Linked DNA regions of Homo sapiens: region 2 is linked to region 1. Evidence: promoter capture Hi-C in 16 types of primary human blood cells and fetal thymus (Javierre and others, 2016). All regions are on one chromosome and are shown on one strand. The core of a region is centred on a gene start or on the middle of the fragment in contact, and the rest is flanking DNA. Distances in the headings are between cores, read along the strand shown. Region 1 holds the start of PKP2 (plakophilin 2). Region 2 has its middle 6.1 kb from the start of YARS2.

Evidence for each region. The method cuts DNA at HindIII sites, captures the fragments that hold promoters and counts their contacts. A CHiCAGO score of 5 or more calls a contact.
Region 2: a contact is called between a fragment that was not itself captured here and the fragment with the promoter of PKP2 in region 1, in 2 of 17 cell types (megakaryocytes and M0 macrophages). The highest score is 5.5, in megakaryocytes.

What each region holds. Positions count from the first base shown.
Region 1 is chr12:32,894,251-32,898,947 of GRCh38, forward strand. It overlaps PKP2 (plakophilin 2), which reads right to left and starts at 2,527. Exons shown (of 13, transcript NM_001005242.3): 1 at 2,259-2,527. The coding sequence starts at 2,481. RefSeq lists silencers at 2,526-2,635, 2,836-2,935. The HindIII fragment of the contact is 4,432 bases long and covers 1-4,056 here.
Region 2 is chr12:32,759,658-32,764,354 of GRCh38, forward strand. No RefSeq gene overlaps it. Among named protein-coding and RNA genes, the nearest start is that of YARS2, 6.1 kb to the left of the region's middle. The HindIII fragment of the contact is 1,074 bases long and covers 1,641-2,714 here.

The sequences.
Region 1 (4,697 bases), core at 1,277-3,776:
TATATTAGCCATTCTTTTGGGTCACTTACTACTTTTTATTTGGTAATGTATTTTTCTAGCGGTTGGCTTCCTTCTTCAAACTTTTTGCTTTAAAGCAAGCAGAGTCTTTGTGTTTAATTCAGCACCTGCACAGCGCCCGGCATGAAGAACATACTCATTTGATGCTTGCTGAATTCATCACACAGGTGATGCATTACTTTGTAGAAAGAACAGATTATGTGTGGAGTTGGGATTAAATTTCCAACCATTGCTGACAGACACATACTTCATATGTGAGATGGATTCTCATATCTATCTCAGCAATTGTTTCAAGAATATAATGAAGATTCTGGAATAGGCACATAGTAGATGCTCAGCAACATTCCCTTTTCTTCTGTTCATGGCTCCATTCCCTCCATTTATGGAAGAGTTGTATCTGCTTGCTCTCTTCCTAGCTGGCCATTCTCAGAGGATAAGAAAGAATATCTAATATGCCTCCTGTGTCTCCTACGCAGGGGAAGCTGATTTGGTTTCAGTTTAGCACTGGACCTATGGGCACAGAGAATGAATGGGTGTAATGGCTCCACTTTTCAAAGACTGGCCTCACTCATCCCGCAGTCTTTAGTCAGACCCCTAAGTCTAAATAAATATAAGGTCTTTCCCTCCATGTATTGCAGCAGTTCTGTGTTTTCTAGACCTCCCCAGCCTTTCAGAACTTCCTCAATTTTATTTAAAGAAAAATGGGAGGGGGCCACGGAGAGGCTTAGCATCTAACAAATCCCACTTTGTATTAATCATTTTAAAACTTAATGATAAAACTGATAAGTTTAAAATTCAGGTTTGGGAGTTTAAATACCAGCTCTGCCACTTACCATCTATTAGAGCTTCAGTGTTACTTAACTGCTTAGTTTCCTCATCTGTAAAATGAGGATGAAAATACCTAACTCACAAGTTTTTAAATACATATATATATATATATCTCAAATGAATGCAAACCACATCGCCCAATTCTTGGCACATAGTATGCACTCAGTTATATTAACTACGATCATTGAACATCTTCTCTTTACCTTTCAAGTATGTTAATATTGACTACGTCATCCTTTAGGATTCTTTTACACACACAGTACAGCCTCCCAGACTCTGCTGTTTGAAATCTCTGGTCTGGCCTGTTAGAATTTTTCTGTTTTCCTAATAGAAACTAGAATGGGTTAGCCTACATTCGCCAATGCCCAAGTTACTTCATACAGAAACAACTGAACGTTGCAGGAAACAGATATTCCAACTTAATTGCTCAATTTCTTTCCTCTTCTTTTTGCTATAAGCCAACATAGTGCTTTTATAATGCAAACTCACATACACAGCAACAAGAAGTAAAACAAGGGTCACTGAGTTGATCCCATCACCTGACTTCAGCAGGGGAGAAAAGGATACATCATGATCTCTAATTTTCACAAGTGGCTTGCCATCTTCTTTCCCTTCCACCTCCCCCGTCTATCAATCATGAACATAGTGTGCATGTGTGTGCTTACACCCCTTTCACCTTCGGGTTTAATTTTTTGGAGGGATCAGACTTGCATCACGCCCGCACTGGTGGGGGTAGGAAGCGCAGCTAGGCGGGCACGGCTGTTGCCGGCAGGGCCAAAGTCCCCTACCTCCTCCTCGGCGTGTTTGTTCCCTGGACCAAAGCCTCCTAACTACTTTTCTTCACTCCCTAGATCCACCACTCGCCTCCCACACAGGGTGGAGCGCCCCGAAGTACTTGCATAAGACAGCACAATCCCAATTTATAGGTTGTAGGAGCGCCAGTGCTGTCGGTTTTTTTCCCCAAGATATTTATGGGGGTCATTAATTATTTAACAAATCTAATAAAATTGAAGGGCTCCTTCTCCCAGAAAAAGATCGTACACACCAAAAATTCTGCATAGCATCTCAAGGTGTTTATAGACTCCCTGAACCTTCAAATTAAGTCCGCACCAGTGAGGGGCGCGGACCGGCGGAGTAGAAAAAGAAAGGGGTGAAATCTTGAAGTGAGTTAGTTAACATTGATAGATATGTACAATATTTAATATACATAGGTACCTATATGACAAAGCTGAGTAATAGGTTATGGAAAAGAGTGCTTTCCACAAGCAAGTCGGTCATACCGAAGACGGCGAGCAACAGGTGGGCAGAACACGGGGTCCCGCACTCCCAGCACGCGGGGTGAGGGCGGGATAGGAGGAGGTGACCGGGTGTGGGGCAGGGGGCGGCGCCGGGGAGCGGCGGGCTCCACTCACCGTTGCCCACGGAGCTGCGGCCCTTCCGGGCGAGGGTCTGCTGCACCTGCTCCTGGATCCGCAGGCTCTTGACTGTCTGGCCGCCGCGGCCGCTGCTCCCCGCCAGCTTCAGCTTGGCCTCGGAGGGCAGCGCCAGGCTGGAGCTGTCCAGTTGTCCCAGGATCTGCTGGCCCAGGACGGTCCGGATGTAGCCGTACTCAGCTGGGGCGCCGGGGGCTGCCATGGGGCCGGTGGGGGCGACCGAGCTGCTCGCCTGCCTCTGGACTCGCGGGCGAAGCCGCCACGGAGCTGGGGGCGCTGGCGCGAGCCCCGCCCCGCTCGAGTCCGGCCCCGCCCCTGGCCCGCCCCCCGCGCCGGTGAGAGGCCCGGGCCGGGGGGGAGCTCGGCCTCGTGGGCCGGACGCCCGGCCTTCCCTGAGGAGGGGGCGCGGCTCCGGCCGGGCACGCGCAGTCGGGCCCGGGGGCGGGGGCGGGGGCGGGCCGGACCCGCTGAGCGCGCGGACACCTGGAGACTTGTACCCGCCCGCGGGGAGGTGGGGAGAGGGGCGCGGTTCGCCTGGGGTCGCGCACGTTGTCGGAGTCCCAGCGGATACCGCCTGCCGGGGCCGCGCCCCGCTCTGCCCACGCCCCGCGCTGGACAGGATGGATTTCCGCTCGATGCAGGGAGGGGCTGCCCTGCAGGCAGGTGAGCCCTCGAGAGTCACTCCTGTTCTTGGACTGAGGCTTGCCTCCGGGATCCCCGAGCGAGTAGTATGTCTGGTTAGTCAGGCTTTGTCGCACTGTTGGAAACGTTTCCTGGTTTTCCTGGACCTGAGGGTGAGAAAGGGCTATTTGGTCAGGCGGAAAGGGCAATATGAGGGAAATGTGCCAAGAAGATAACGTGTGAAATAAAAGACTTTCTAAAGAGAGTGTTTTTTTTCTTAGTACAACGTCAGGACTATGTACTTTTTGCACAGATGCAGTCCCAGAAACATATGTTCTTCCTCATTGAGAGCTTCTGTTTTCTCTTGGATACACAAATTGTACCCAGTACTCTTGCTAACCCATTCCTCTCTTACGAACACACCCACACAGAGAAACTCCAACAAGAGGCTCTAGAGAAGAAATGAATTTTAATAGACGATGCTTTTTAAATAGCCCTGCTAACGTTGATTAAGTCCTCTTTATTACAGGCTCTTTGTAGAGAGATCCACGGAGAGGGCCTCCAACTTTCAATCGAATCTTCCACAACTTGTATTTATCGTGCTATTAATTATGTTTCACCGCAGTTGACTACTGAGAACTTGAGAGCTAAGCTCAACAGAAAGGATCCTTGACCTTAAAGTTTACAACCAAAGCCACTTGTCCTGATTTGCCTCTTTGGACTTAAGAGGCAGAAAGAAAAACATGTATCCCTGGTATTAAGATAATATTCCCTTTGATTGCTTGGGTTTGTATGTTCACTTTCCCTCAAATCACTCAATTGCTGCAAAACCCCACTTACTCAAGTCTGAAGTGTTTGGAGAACGCAGCTTCCCTCGTCTTTGTTTTCCTACCCACACCCTTCTGCCTTTAGACACACACTGAATGCTTAGACACACAATGCACAGGTATATGGCCTCCCTTTTTACATGAGCGTCCAGGGAGTGAAGAGGAAACCAAAGGACTGAAAGCGTGGACAACAGAGTAGTGACAGTTCCGCCACCCTTTGTCAGCAGGCCACATGGCTAAGTGGGAGCCATATGGATGTGAGTCCTGGAAGCAATTGCTCCCACCCCAATAGAATGGACCACTATTTAGGCAAATTACACCTTGTGTAAAGCTTGCTTATGTAGCCAGGTGGAAACATCCAACCATGATGCTGAGATGTAATTGAAAAGAGAGGGGTGAACTGAAGGTAAGTGATGATAGAAACGTCCAGCAACATTCCTGTTTCTCTCTCTCTCTCTCTCTCTCTCTTTTCATGGCCTCTTCTGGCAGACCAGAATCTGCTGCTTTGAGAGACAATTTCAGTATCTGTCCATACAGGGTCAGTTGGGGCATTCCTTGTTATTTTGTACCTGAAGAGCCATGACTTAAAATGTCAGCTCTGCCTCCAATTAGATTCCTCACCAGGAGACTAGAGAGGAATTTTTCTCATTTATTTTAATGAGCCAAACCTCAGATACTTTTTTCCTCTCAAATTAATTTTTTTAAAGTGTGTTGTTGGAATTGATTATCCTGTTGGGTAGGTACCAATAATTGGGCACATAGAAATCTTGTTGTTGGATTGTTAGGTGATTTGAGGGGAGGGAAGGTGATTAAAAGCACAGCTTGTGAGTGAGGAAAATCTAGGTTTTAACCTTAGCTTACCCCTTGTAAGTATATGGCCACAAGCAAGTTTTTTTAGATTTTTATAACTCTGTACATTCTCTTATCTATAAATGGGAGCAATAAAAGTATCTACTACATAGTTGTATTA
Region 2 (4,697 bases), core at 928-3,427, 130 kb before region 1:
GGTTACGGCCGGGCATGGTGGCTCACGCTTGTAATCCCAGCACTTTGGGAGGCTGAGGCGGGCAGATCACCTGAGGTCAGGAGTTTGAGACCAGCCTGACAAACATGGTGAAACTCCCGTCTCAACCAAAAATACAAAAATTAGCCAGACGTGGTGGCGGGCGTCTGTAATCCCAGCTACTCAGGAGGCTGAGGCAGGAGAATCACTTAAACCTGGGAGGCGGAGGTTGCAGTGAGCCGACATAGCACCACTGCACTCCAGCCTGGGCAACAGAGTGAGACAACATCTCAAAAAAAAAAAAAAGAAAGAAAAGAAAAAGAAATTGTAGGTTATTGCAGAAAGGCCATGGCTTTTCTTCCAGTTGAAGTATTTCCATGGCTTTTCTTCCAGTTGAAGTATTTCCATGACATTCCTATCTCCTATTACTTGGGAAGAATCATTTCTAAAGATTGATTTCATGTCTTTGTTGTCTTTGTATAATAATTTATAACTCAATCTGCCTCATAATTACATCTTCTCACACATGACTTTCATGTTGCTGTTTTTCTTGAAACCTACATCTAAAGTCCTAAAGATCCTCCCACTCTGCCCATCCTTACCTGCAAGGCAGTTGCTCCCCTTTCATTCCAAACTAATTTCTTTCAGGAAGCTCCTCTGCATTAGGTAGGGCGAAGGAAGGATGCTTTTACTGTCCAGGTTCATCATGCCCCTAAAATGTATTAAAATGTAAAATCAATAATGCTTACCCTTCCCACACAAAAAAATGGAAAGACCATTAAGTTCTATTAAAATTTATAGAAATTTATGTGAGCTAAGTGTCTTGAAACCTAGTCTGTGTCCCTTGATTGAAGTGGCTTTAATGCTTTTTGAGCTGATGGTCATATTAACATCCAAAAATTTTTTATAAGAGATTAGCTTATTTTAAGATGCTGATTGTAGGAGGATAATTAGACAAAGAAACATGTTACTAGATATGCATTTCCTTTCTATATTAGAGTTTAGAGAAGGATACCCCAAGTTTCTTTCTTTCTTTCTTTTAGGCTGCTGTTGTAGCCAGTGGAATAACCTGGAGGTCTCAGCATTGCCTTAACTTTATGCACCTGGTCCCATACCATATGGCTGGATAATGTTTTGAGATATTTATGGGTTTAAAAATCTTTCATTTTCCAGGCCGGGTGCGGTGGCTCACGCCTGTAATCCCAGCACTTTGGGAGGCCGAGGTGGGCAGATCACGAGGTCAGGAGTTCGAGACCAGCCTGGCCAACATAGTGAAAACCCGTCTCTTCCAAAAATACAAAAATTAGCCAGGTGTGGTGGCACACGCCTGTAGTCCCATCTACTCAGGAGGCTGAGGCGGGAGAGTCGCTTGAACCCGGAAGGCAGAGGTTGCAGTGAGCTGAGACCACGCCATTGCACTCCAGCCTGGGTGACAGAGTGAGACTCCGTCTCAAAAAAACAAAGAAATAAAAAATCTTTCATTTTCCTCTCTTCATTTTAACTGTCCATTTGTAGCAAGTTCTGTGTGTCAGTGCCTTGGGGAAAGTACAAGTCGGGGAGGAATACAGAGTCATCCTGGAACTCTTTGTAACTTTTGTTTCCAAAAGTCAAAAGCCTAAGATAGGATGAAGTTTAAGGAAATAAGCTTAGAGAAGAGAAAGAGGTAGGATTCTCCAGCTTAAAGAGAGTGCCCCTGCCCCAAACCTGGGCAAGGGAGCCCTGGCTATGGCCCTGGTTTGCCAGAGGAGCTGTGCATTGCTCCCTGGCCTCAAAGGGACGACCTCCTGCTACACTTCCAGCCTGGGGCTCCTGGCTTTGCCTAAGGTTCCTCTGCTTCATTTGAGGCAGGAGAGCCCCTGAGTGCCAGCTGGAGGTCTCAGAGAACCACTGAAGGCTTGGCCAACAAGGATGGCTAGAATGATCAGAACCAATTGGAAATTAGAGATATTATTTCCTGGGGCACGTTGATCAAATTTTGGTAAAACCCTAGAAGCGGGAAGGAGGCTAATAATGATGGAGAAACAATTTCCTACCATTCTAGTGGGTTAAGGACATAGATGTTTGCTTATTCATTTAACAGATATTTATTAGAATTATTTGATCAGTCAGGCACTGTTCTAATGGCTTAGGATATATTCATGGATGAAAGAAAGATTCCTGTCCTCATGGAGATAATATTATTCTATGAAGTTATTTTTCTCTGAGCAGTTTTATTCTTCACTTCCTCTTTCTTCATTTCCTCTTTCTGATTGGGCTCCTTTTCCACGCCCAATTTTTGGAGCAGAGAGAGAGTGACTCCTAGGTAGCTGTTGAAGAACATGCAGATTAGGAGGGGGCTGTGGGAGAGAAACATTTGTTGAGAATATGACCAAGGGAAAGACATCCCTTGTAGGAGGGTGGTGATTGAGGTGTAGAGTAGAATTCAAACAGCTTTTCCCCTTTCAATATGTAATTGTGTCTCCCTTCACTCCTGCTGCAGTGAATTTTTCTCCTCGCAGAACCCTTTCCCCAACATCCACCCCTTCTGCTCTGAGCTTGGTGATAGCCGCCGCAGTCCCCTACCAGCATGTTCTTTCCCAGGCCATGTTGTCGGGACTGTAATTCAGCCATGACTGGCAAGCAACGAATCCGCCTGGCTGTTTGCTAATGTGATGAGAAAAGCAGGCTTCCCTCTTAGAAAGAGGATCTTGGAGACACTATTGTGATTGCATCTGAAAAGCTTAGATCAAATGGATAATGTCTTCAGTGAAGATCATTTTGGAATTTTCCTATTTATCAAGTTACCTTAGTAATTTTCTGGTCTCTCTGACAGAGTAGAAGTGAATCAATCAACTCATCATTGTCCCTCCATCAAGGCCAAGTGAATTTATATCTCCATTGGAGAAGAAACAAAACAATAAGCAATCATTCTATGTTTTGTAGAGCAATTCTATTTTGATTAAAACTATTTTTGTCTTTTTTTCTCAGTGTCTTCAATACGGACTTTATGTTTTTCTGTTATAAGCACTGACTGGTTAGTTACCAAAATGAGAAATAAGTCTGGAAACATCTCACTCATTAATGTTCTGTAACATCATAAGGGGAACAAATACCTTGTATTTACATAATGTTTGCAGAAAAGTCAAATATTACTTCCTTCATCCTCACAACCATAACAAAATGTGCTTCTGAGTCGTGGTCCAAAGACCATGGGACTAGGAGTCACAGACATGAGTAGCTATCTCAGCTTAACCTTGACTACCTGTTCCTCCTTAGATAAGTCATTTAACACACTAGCCTTGGTGTCCTCATTTTAGAAGTAAATGGGCTGGGCTTGGCGCGGTGGCTCATGCCTGTAATCCCAGCATTTTGGGAGGCCGAGGCAGGCAAATCACGACGTGGTCAGGAGATCGAGACCATCCTGGCTAACACGGTGAAACCCTGTCTCTACTAACAATACAAAAAATTAGCCAGGCATGGTGGCCGGCACCTGTAGTCCCAGCTACTTGGGAGGCTGAGGCAGGAGAATCACTTGAACCTGGGAGGCAGAGATTGCAGCAAGCTGAGATCTCGCCACTGCACTCCAGCCTGAGCGACAGAGCAAGACTCCATTTCAGAAAAAAAAGAAAAGAAAAGAAAAAAAAAAGTAAATGGGCTGGATTAGATGAATTCTAAAATCTCATTCACCTCTACAATTCTGAAATGCCTGTTTGCTATCACAGTAGTCAAAAGTCCCATTTATTGTTTCTCAGCTTTAACTTCATTATTTAAGCCACCACACCAGGGAGGAGGTTAAAAATGTATTCATCGGCCAGGCACAGTGGCCCATGCCTGCAATCCCAGCACTTTGGGAGGCCAAGATGGCGGATCACTTGAGGTCAGGAGTTTGAGACCAGCCTGGCCAACATGGTGAAACCCTATCTCTACTAAAATACAAAAAATAATTAGCCGGGCATGGTGATGGGCGCCCATAATCTCAGCTACTTGAGAGGCTGAGGCAGGAGAATCCCTTGAACCTGGGAGGTGGACGTTGCAGTGAGCAGAGATCATGCCTCTGCACTCCAGCCTGGGTGACAAAGTGAGACTCCCTCTCAAAGAAAAAAACAAACAAACAAAAAAAAGCCTGGGCGCAGTGGCTCACGCCTGTAATCCCAGCACTTTGGGAGGCTGAGGCAGGCAGATCACTTGAGGTTGGGAGTTCGAGACCGCCTGACCAACATGGTGAAACCCCATCTCTACCAAAAAATACAAAAAATTAGCTGGGCATGGTGGCACACACCTGTAGTCCCAGCTACTTGGGAGGCTGAGGCAGGAGAATTGCTTGAACCCAGGAGGCGGAGGTTGCAGTGAGCCGACATCATGCCACTGCACTCCAGCCTGGTGACGGAACAAGACTCTATTACAAAATAAATAAATAAATACATCTATTTTCTCCTCTACTGAGGTTTGCTTAAGCAGTAGAAGCCAGTTTAAGTCATGCTTACATGGCTGTTATTAGAGGGAAACTGTATTATGACAAGTTTTGAAAAATTAAGATTGAAGATTTAGAAAGTGATAGTTGACCAATGAAACATATATCATATTTGCAGAAAGATCCAGTGAAAATCCAAGCAGCTTTGCTCAGATCCAAACAGTTTCAATTGCCATTGATCTCATTCAAAGCTGCCCGTGGGTGGGAGACCGACCTGGAAGGGTGTCACTAACAGAGATAGCAAATGAAA